Regions from separate parts of the Homo sapiens genome. Here regions 2 and 3 are each linked to region 1. Evidence: promoter capture Hi-C in 16 types of primary human blood cells and fetal thymus (Javierre and others, 2016). All regions are on one chromosome and are shown on one strand. The core of a region is centred on a gene start or on the middle of the fragment in contact, and the rest is flanking DNA. Distances in the headings are between cores, read along the strand shown. Region 1 holds the start of CD5 (CD5 molecule). Region 2 overlaps LOC105369322 (a long non-coding RNA gene). Region 3 overlaps MS4A15 (membrane spanning 4-domains A15).

Region 1 (2,700 bases), core at 74-2,573:
CACACACTCATCCACATGGAGATCACACACACACATCAACATGGAGATCACACACACATCAACATGGAGATCACATTCACACACATCAACATGGAGATCACAAACACACATCAACATGGAGATCACACACACACATCAACATGGAGATTACACACACATCAACATGGAGATCACATTCACACACATCAACATGGAGATCACACACACACATCAACATGGAGATCACACACACACGTCAACATGGAGATCACATTCACACACATCAACATGGAGATCACATTCACACACACAAACATGGAGATCACACACACATATATCAAATGGGGATTACACACACATCAACCCCAACATGGAGATCACACACACAACACAGAGATCACACAAGTCAACATGGAGATCATACACACACATCAACATGGAAATCACAAACACACAACATGGAAATCACACACACATATCAACATGGAGATCACACACACACATCAACATGGAGATCACACACACATCAACATGGCGATCACAATCACACACATCAACATGGAGATCACACACAACACAGAAATCACACACGTCAACATGGAGATTACACACACATCAACATGGAGTTCACACACACATCAACATGGAGATCACACACACTCAACATGGAGCTCACACATACACCTCAACATGGAGATCACACAACACAGAGATGACACACACAACACAGAGATCACACAAGTCAACATGGAGATCTCTCTCTCTCTACACACACACACACACACACACACACACACACACACACACACTGGCACAAGCCCAGCATTCATGGCGCAGCCATCTCTTGTACTTGCTAGCAAAACACCACCTGTGGAAAGTCAGCTCAAACTTCCAACCTCATCCCTCACAAAGGGGGAATGGAGGGTTTGGTTTTGGCTTTCACTGGAGTCTGCAACAAGAACTGGCATCATGCTGCCCATTTCCCGCCTCTCCCCACCCAGACCCCTGCCTCAGGGACGCCTGTCCTCAGCCCAGCCCTCAGCTGCAGCCAGGCCTTCAGCCTCCGTAACCCCCGCTCAGGGTCCCCACCCCCTGCAGCCCTGTCCCTCCAGGATGCATGGCCTTGTCCTGTGTGGGGGTGGCCGAGAGCACTGCCCCAGCCCTGGGTACCTTGGGCAGGAAGCTGGCAGAGGCCAGGGCTGCCATTCAAACAGGGGCAGGTGGTTTTGCCAGGAGGAAGTTGACAGTTCAACTTCAAACATGGGTGACGCAGGCCCCACACTGCCTGCTCCCCGTCCCACCCCTCCCTGAGCACGCCACCCCGCCCTCTCCCTCTCTGAGAGCGAGATACCCGGCCAGACACCCTCACCTGCGGTGCCCAGCTGCCCAGGCTGAGGCAAGAGAAGGCCAGAAACCATGCCCATGGGGTCTCTGCAACCGCTGGCCACCTTGTACCTGCTGGGGATGCTGGGTGAGTACCCCTCCCAGGTGTCCTGCGAACACCCGGGCTCGCTCCAGTGCAAGGAAGGAGTTCCCAGTTTTACCCAAGGCTGACTCTGGGATCCACATGTCAGCCCTCTGGAGCGTTGTGGAGATTTGGGGCCACTGGGATCCCTGCCTGCCCCCACTAAGCCGCAGCTTGGCCCTCTGTCCTGCATGTCCCACCCGCCAGGAGCACAACCTTGCCTCTCTCATGCGCTGTTGAGAACCCTGCTTTACCCTTCCAGTGCAAGAGAGACTGCAGGGGGGACCCGCATTTGATGGGGCCCAGACAACTTGATTCCTAGGCTGAGTTGGATTTTAGCAGAGCATTCAGGCCTCCCTCTGCGAGGTCCCCCACTGACAGCCCAGCCTTTACTTGGTCGCCTCCAGAGACATGGAAACTCGCCGTCTCCGAGGCAGCTCTGATGATGCTCTGGACAGACAGTGGGCCGAGGCAGGGTGGAGCCGCCTCTGAGGACGATGTCTGAGCAAATGTCAAGGACTCATAGCGGAAGTCCTAGGCCCTCTCATGCCCAGTCCTGGGTCAGTCCCAGAGGGGCCCAGCCAGGCCGGCTGGGATGAGTACACGCTGGGCCTGCTCTCACTCCAGCCCTGGGTTGTAAGCCCAACCCTGTGTGACCTCGGATAGGTCCCCAAGCCTCTCCAGGCCTTGATCTCCCCATTTATGAAATGTGGGGGTTGGGGGTGTGAACTGGATGAGGCCTGACCCACTTCCTGAGGATTTAGAAGGTCTGGCAGGGTGACAGAGGTGCGTGACTCTGGGCTGGAAACAGGAGGATGCGAGCAGCTTCCAGGCTGGCAGGGAGAGGGTCCGGAGGCCTTGCCTGCCTGAGCAGGGAGCCTCAGCAGCCTTCTAGGGAAACCGGGTGTGCAGGTGTGAGTGTGGGGGAATGCATGTGTGTGTGTCTGTGTGCATGTGTGTGAGAACTGTGTGTGGGGGAATGTGTGAGTCTATGTGTGTCTGTGTGAGTCTGTGTGTACGTGTGTGAGAACTGTGTTGGGGGGTAATGTGTGACTCTGTGTGTGAGTCTGTGTGTGAGTCTCTGGGCATGTGTGTGAGTACTGTGTGTAGGGGAATGTGTGAGTCTGTGTGTGAGTCTGTGTGTGAGTCTCTGGGCATGTGTGTGAGTACTGTCTGGGGGGGAATGTGTGAGTCTGTGTGTGAGTCTCTGGGCATGTGTGTGAGTACTGTGTGGGGGGGAATGTGTGAGTCTGTGT
Region 2 (2,700 bases), core at 40-2,539, 280 kb before region 1:
TCGTGCCTGGGCAAGAGTGAGACTCCATCTCAAGAAAAAAAAAAAAAAGAAAGAAAACAGAAACCTGTAGTCTATGATTCTGGAGGCTGGAAGCCCAAAGTCAAGGTGCTGGCAGGATCGAGTTCTCTCTGAAGGCTCTTGGGGATAATGCTTTCTGGCCTCGTCCCAGCTTCCAGTGGTTGCTGGCAACTCTTGGTGTTCCTTGGCTCGTAGACACATCCTGCCAGTCTCTGCCTCTGTCATCAGGGGCTGTTCTCCCTGTGTCCCTTCCCTTCTTCTAAGGACACCAGTCATAATCCATTATGACCTCATCTTAACTCGATTACATCTGCAAAGACCCTATTTCCAAATAGATCCCATTCACAGGTACCAGGGTTAAGACTTCAACATATCTTTTGGGGGGATACAATTCAACCCACAAAAGATGGCAAATAGCTTTTCTATCGATGCGGCCCTGGTGGGTTCTGAGGATTGATGGATGTTGTCTGCCATGGACTTTGCAGGAAGAAGTGGCCACACATGTTGCTGTCTGTGCTCCTGCAACAAATCCATCTCCTGGCTATTAAGGCTGACATAGCCTCTGTGGCCCATGGGCTCCAGCAGGTGGAGCAGAGATGCTGTCACCTTGGTCACTGGTTCCTGGCTCCTAGGGCAAGTCAGTGGTTCCTCCAGGATCAAAAGCGTGCAAAGGAAGCCCGCAACACAGAGGGCATGTGAGCCAGCACTCTCCCCTTCCCGCTGGGTAGTAACTCGGGCTCCGGTCTCCTTAGCAGGTGAAGGTCAGCACAGGGCCAAACCTGGTCAGCTCACTGTGTGCCAGCCTCGGGGTGTGTGCCTTCATGGTTGAGCTGGCTGCCAGCAACAACTATACCCAGATCAGTGTCTCAGGCCCAGAGAATAAGCATCCACTCTTTGGGCACCATTTAATCCTAGAAACCACCACCAAGAGATATTTTCTTATCCTCTATTGTCAAAGTTAAAATGGGGAGTGGGATTTTTTTTTTCTTTAAATACAGACAGAGCCTCGCTAACTTGCTCATGCTGTCCTCAAACTCCTGGGCTCCAGCGATTCTCCTGCCTAAGCCTCCTGAGTGGCTGGGACTCCAGGCAGGTACCATGACACCCAGCTTTTGGGAGTAGGGTTTAAGTGTTTAGCAATTACCTCCAGATTCCCTGAGGCAGAACTCCACCAGGATTTGACAGCCCCAGGTACTTCCCTCTGGACTAGTTTTTCCTGTGTTAATGCTGATGTGGTGGCTCTTTAGGAGGCCAAGGCGGGAGGATCGCTTGAACCCAGGAGTTTGAGACTAGCCTGAGAAACATGGTGAGGCCCACTCTCAACCAAAAATATTTTTTTGAAAAAAATTAGCCAGGTATGTTGGTGCAGGCCTGTAGTCCCAGCTACTTGGAAGGCTGAAGTGGGAGGATTGCTTGAGCCCATGAGTTCAAGGCTGCGGTGAGTTATAATCATGCCACTGCACTCCAGCCTGGGTAACAGAGTGAGCCCCTGTTTCTTAAAAAAAATAATAATCATTTGCTTGGAGGAAGATATTCCAGCTGCTTGCCTCCTACCAAGGACGTTCCCCTGTAAGAGCATAGAGGTCAAGGGTGCATTAGGAGGACTGCCAGCATAATAATACCTAAGATTTATCAGTGAGTCCTGCCTTCTGGCTGTGGCCATTGAGGTCACATCTTTTCAAAGACATGTGATTATGTCATGAGATTGCTACCAGGGACCTGGACGTGGCAAAAATGGGGCTGGGAATACTGGGGGAGGAGTTTCCTCTGCTCTCATCCTAGGGAAAGAGAGGAAAGGAGAAACACTCTCTTCAGGTGGGTCTGACACACCATGCAGGGGCGAGGGACACACTGCCCACTGCTGCCCACACTTTGACCACTTCAGTGACCCAGCTGCCCCAGAATCCCCGACCTTCCCCTGTAGCCTGGGGTCCCTGAACGGCCCCAAGACTCAACTTCCTGCCCGTGACCTCACGTGAAACTGATCTTCACCCAGCCCCTCTCTGTGCTTTCCTTATCAGTAGAGGACAAATCATTCCTCCTAGGCCCCCACGACCCTAGTCCACTGTGTTCACCTTCCCTAGCTGCTCTCTCCTCCATCCATGCCTCTCCCTCTCCTCTGGTCCAGAAACTCAAGTCCCGGAGACCCCGTGTCCCTCTCTGACTGTGGTCTCCCCTCTCTTCCCTTTCACAGCAACAATCTCCTACGGACTCCATCTCCTCCTCTCCCGTCTCTACAGACCTCAAGCCCTCTCAGGGCAGCCGCCAGTAGCTTACTGCCAAATACATGCTTTTCCATGTATTTTCTTACTTGACCTTTCTGTACTTTTTTGCTGATGGGTGTCAGTCTGAATGGTTGACCACATGGGTCTTGGAATTGGATGGGTCTGAATCCCAGCTTTCACATACCAGCTGTGTGGCTTTGGACAAGTACCTCAATTTTTCTGAACCTCTGTTTCATCCTCTGTGAAATGGGGCTAATCAGAGTAGCTATCTAATAAGGCAACTAAGATTAAAATAAGCACGTAACAGGTGCTCACTAGATGACAGGTCACTCCCCTTCTAGAAAGCTTCCCTTCTTTTATCCATCTCCTTGGTCAGAATCTGCAGACTGATTCCGGGACTGGCTGGCCTGTAAAACTGCCCAGTTTTTGCAGGCTTTGCACCCTGGTTTTGCAGGTG
Region 3 (2,700 bases), core at 2-2,501, 330 kb before region 1:
GATGCTGAAAAGGCAACTCAGTATATCAAAATGAAACTCTTGATTCCTGCCATAGGCTTGTCCCCAGCCCTATCCCTCCTATCACCTCCTCATCTCAGCAAATGGCACCTCCAGCCACCCAACTGCCAAAGCTAAACATATCCCAAGAATTGTCCTAGAATCTTCTTTCCCTGCTGCGCATCCACCCCAGCAGCAGGTCGCGCCGGATCACCCTCCAGAGCATAGCCTGAGTGTGTCCGCTTCTTCCCACCCCCATGGCCACCATGCTGAGCTACACCTGCTTGAGACCTGTAGTGACTCATTCCTGGTCCTCTGTCTCCGTGTCACCCCAGGGCCTCCTCCACCCACCGCTGACCCTGCGGTCTCCCCAGCATGGCAGCTGAGTGCCCCCTGCAAATTGCAGACCTGCTAAGCTGCAGGCCCAGAGTGGCGCAGCACTGCTCAGCTCCACCCTCTCAGCTCGGCAGACGCAGGGCCAGCCCCACCTCAGTGTGTCAGGCGACTGCCAAGTACATAGGTGCCATGATGCAGGTCCCTGGGCTATCCTTATGGATAGCCTCGTGCCCGGCTGTTGTCATCCCAGCTCACAGAGACAACCCTGACACCCACCCAACCTCGAGTAGCCCCAGTGACCGCTATGACTTCATCACAGCTCTTAGCACCACTGTCTGTACTTTTCTTCACTGTTTGCTAAGTGTCAGTCTTCCCCAATTAGAATATAAGTTCCGGCCGGGCACGGTGGCTGATGACTGTAATCCCAGCACTTTGGGAGGCCAAGTCAGGTGGATCACGAGGTCAGGAGTTCAAGACCAGCCTGACCAATATGGTGAAACCCCGTCTCTCCTAAAAATACCAAAATTAGCTGGGTGTGGTGGCGGGCGTCTGTAGTCCCAGCTACTTGGGAGGCTGGGGCAGGAGAATCACTTGAACCCGGGAGGCGGAGGTTGCAGTGAGCCGAGATCATGCCACTGCACTCCAGCCTGTGTGACAGAGCAAGACTCCATCTTAGAAAATAAAATAAAAAAAAAAAAGCTCCTTGAGGGCAGAGATCTGGTCTGCCTTATTCAACTCTGTTATGTTCCTGGCACATAACTGCCACTCAGAAAATATTTGGTTTTTCTGTTTTTTGTTTTGAGACAGAGTCTCACTCTGTCCCCCAGGCTGGAGTGCAGTGGCACTATCTTGGCTCACTGCAACCTCCGCCTCCCAGGTTCAAGTGATCCTTGCTCCTTAGCCTCCCGAGTAGGTGGGATTACAGGTGCACGCCACTCTGCCCAGCTCATTTTTGTATTTTTAGTAGAGACTGGAGTTTCACCATGTTGGCCAGGCTGGTCTTGAACTCTTGACTTCAAGAGATCCTCCCACCTCGGCCTCCCAAACTTCTGGGATTACAGGCATGAGCTCACTCAGTTCAGCCTCACTCAGTAAATGTTTGATGAGTGAATGTTTGAAGGAACAATGCCTTCCCCATGAGGCCCTGATGATATGACGTCAATGAAAACACTCACCTTGTAAGCCACAGCCCTAGTTCTCTGGACAGGGGACACCCCTGCCGAGAGACCCCAAGGTGCCTGCCTGGCAGAGAAAGTGGCATCAGGAGGCTGTTGTCTCTCCCTGGCACCTCTTGACAGATCCCAAGCAGGGTCTGCCCTGCCCAGGGTCCTGGCTGAGGCCTCACCTGGTCCCCTCTCCCCATACAGTTCATCATCTCCGGATCCCTCTCAGTGGCAGCCGAGAAGAACCACACCAGTTGCCTGGTGAGTGTGAACAGGGGGACCCAGGGGCGGGGATGAAGCCACAGCTAAATCTCACTCTACCCTGCCCCTCCCATCCACTCACTCCTTCAGCTCATTCCCCAGCACTTCAGGGGACCTGCAAAGTGCCAGGGGAGGGGCACCACCCAGGCAGACCAGACGCAGACTGTGCATGTCCAGGAGAAGAAGACAGGGATACTCTTTCAATACACAAGCCAGGGTGGAAAGTGAGGTCCATGCTCATGGTCATTCCGAGAAAGGAAAGATGCTAGAAGATCTCCTGTAAGAGTCCTGCTGGGCCTTGGTGAGCAGAGAGGACTTAGAAATACCACAGGGAAAGCTGGAGAATGCACGGAGGAGTGTGGGCAGGGTCGCCACTGAAACCACGCCTGGCTCCATCCAACGAAGGCAAAGGTAGGAGAAGGAAAGTGGAAAGAAATCAGACAGAGAGATTTAATCCCATGATGGGGCTGGATTGTGGAGGGCTTGGTGCCTTCTGCAGGCACTGGGAGGCGATGGAGGCTTTGAACAGGAGGGTATGAGCTTTATGTCAGGCTCAGAGAACACGGCAATGAAGATCATGAACACGGCAGCGAAGGTCATGAACATAGCAGTGAAGGTCATGGCATTTATCTTCTGGTGCCTTGTAGACACCCGTAAAGCAAACTAACAAAGATGGTTGCCAAGCATGAGAAGTGCTGAAAGGAAGCAGGCAGGATAATATGAGTCATTCTAAGCTCAGCTGGGACGGTCTGGAGTCCCTGAGCAGGTATCACGGAACCGAGTCTTCACAGTTCAGAGGGCAACAACCACGGAAGAGCCCGGTCGGGAAACGCCATGGCTGGACAGGGGACCAGAGTGCTGGACCATCACAGGCAAGGGGTGGGCCGAGAGGGAGAGGCCGGGGAGGTGACTCAGAGCCTAAATGCCAAGTTCAGGATTTGTT

The links. Contacts are between HindIII fragments. The CHiCAGO score rates a contact against its expected background, and 5 or more counts as called.
Region 2: a contact is called between a fragment that was not itself captured here and the fragment with the promoter of CD5 in region 1, in 2 of 17 cell types (fetal thymus and total CD4 T cells). The highest score is 6.7, in fetal thymus.
Region 3: a fragment that was not itself captured here is called in contact with the fragment with the promoter of CD5 in region 1 in 1 of 17 cell types (fetal thymus); the score reaches 5.5 in fetal thymus.

What each region holds. Positions count from the first base shown.
Region 1 is chr11:61,101,166-61,103,865 of GRCh38, forward strand. CD5 (CD5 molecule) reads left to right here and starts at 1,324. Exons shown (of 11, transcript NM_014207.4): 1 at 1,324-1,450. The coding sequence starts at 1,396. The HindIII fragment of the contact is 6,487 bases long and covers 1-2,700 here.
Region 2 is chr11:60,825,174-60,827,873 of GRCh38, forward strand. The region is part of intron 2 of LOC105369322 (a long non-coding RNA gene); the gene reads right to left. Among named protein-coding and RNA genes, the nearest start is that of CCDC86, 16 kb to the right of the region's middle. The HindIII fragment of the contact is 2,594 bases long and covers 1-2,586 here.
Region 3 is chr11:60,769,591-60,772,290 of GRCh38, forward strand. MS4A15 (membrane spanning 4-domains A15) reads left to right here. Exons shown (of 7, transcript NM_001098835.2): 4 at 1,701-1,757. Among named protein-coding and RNA genes, the nearest start is that of MS4A15, 14 kb to the left of the region's middle. The HindIII fragment of the contact is 3,389 bases long and covers 1-2,700 here.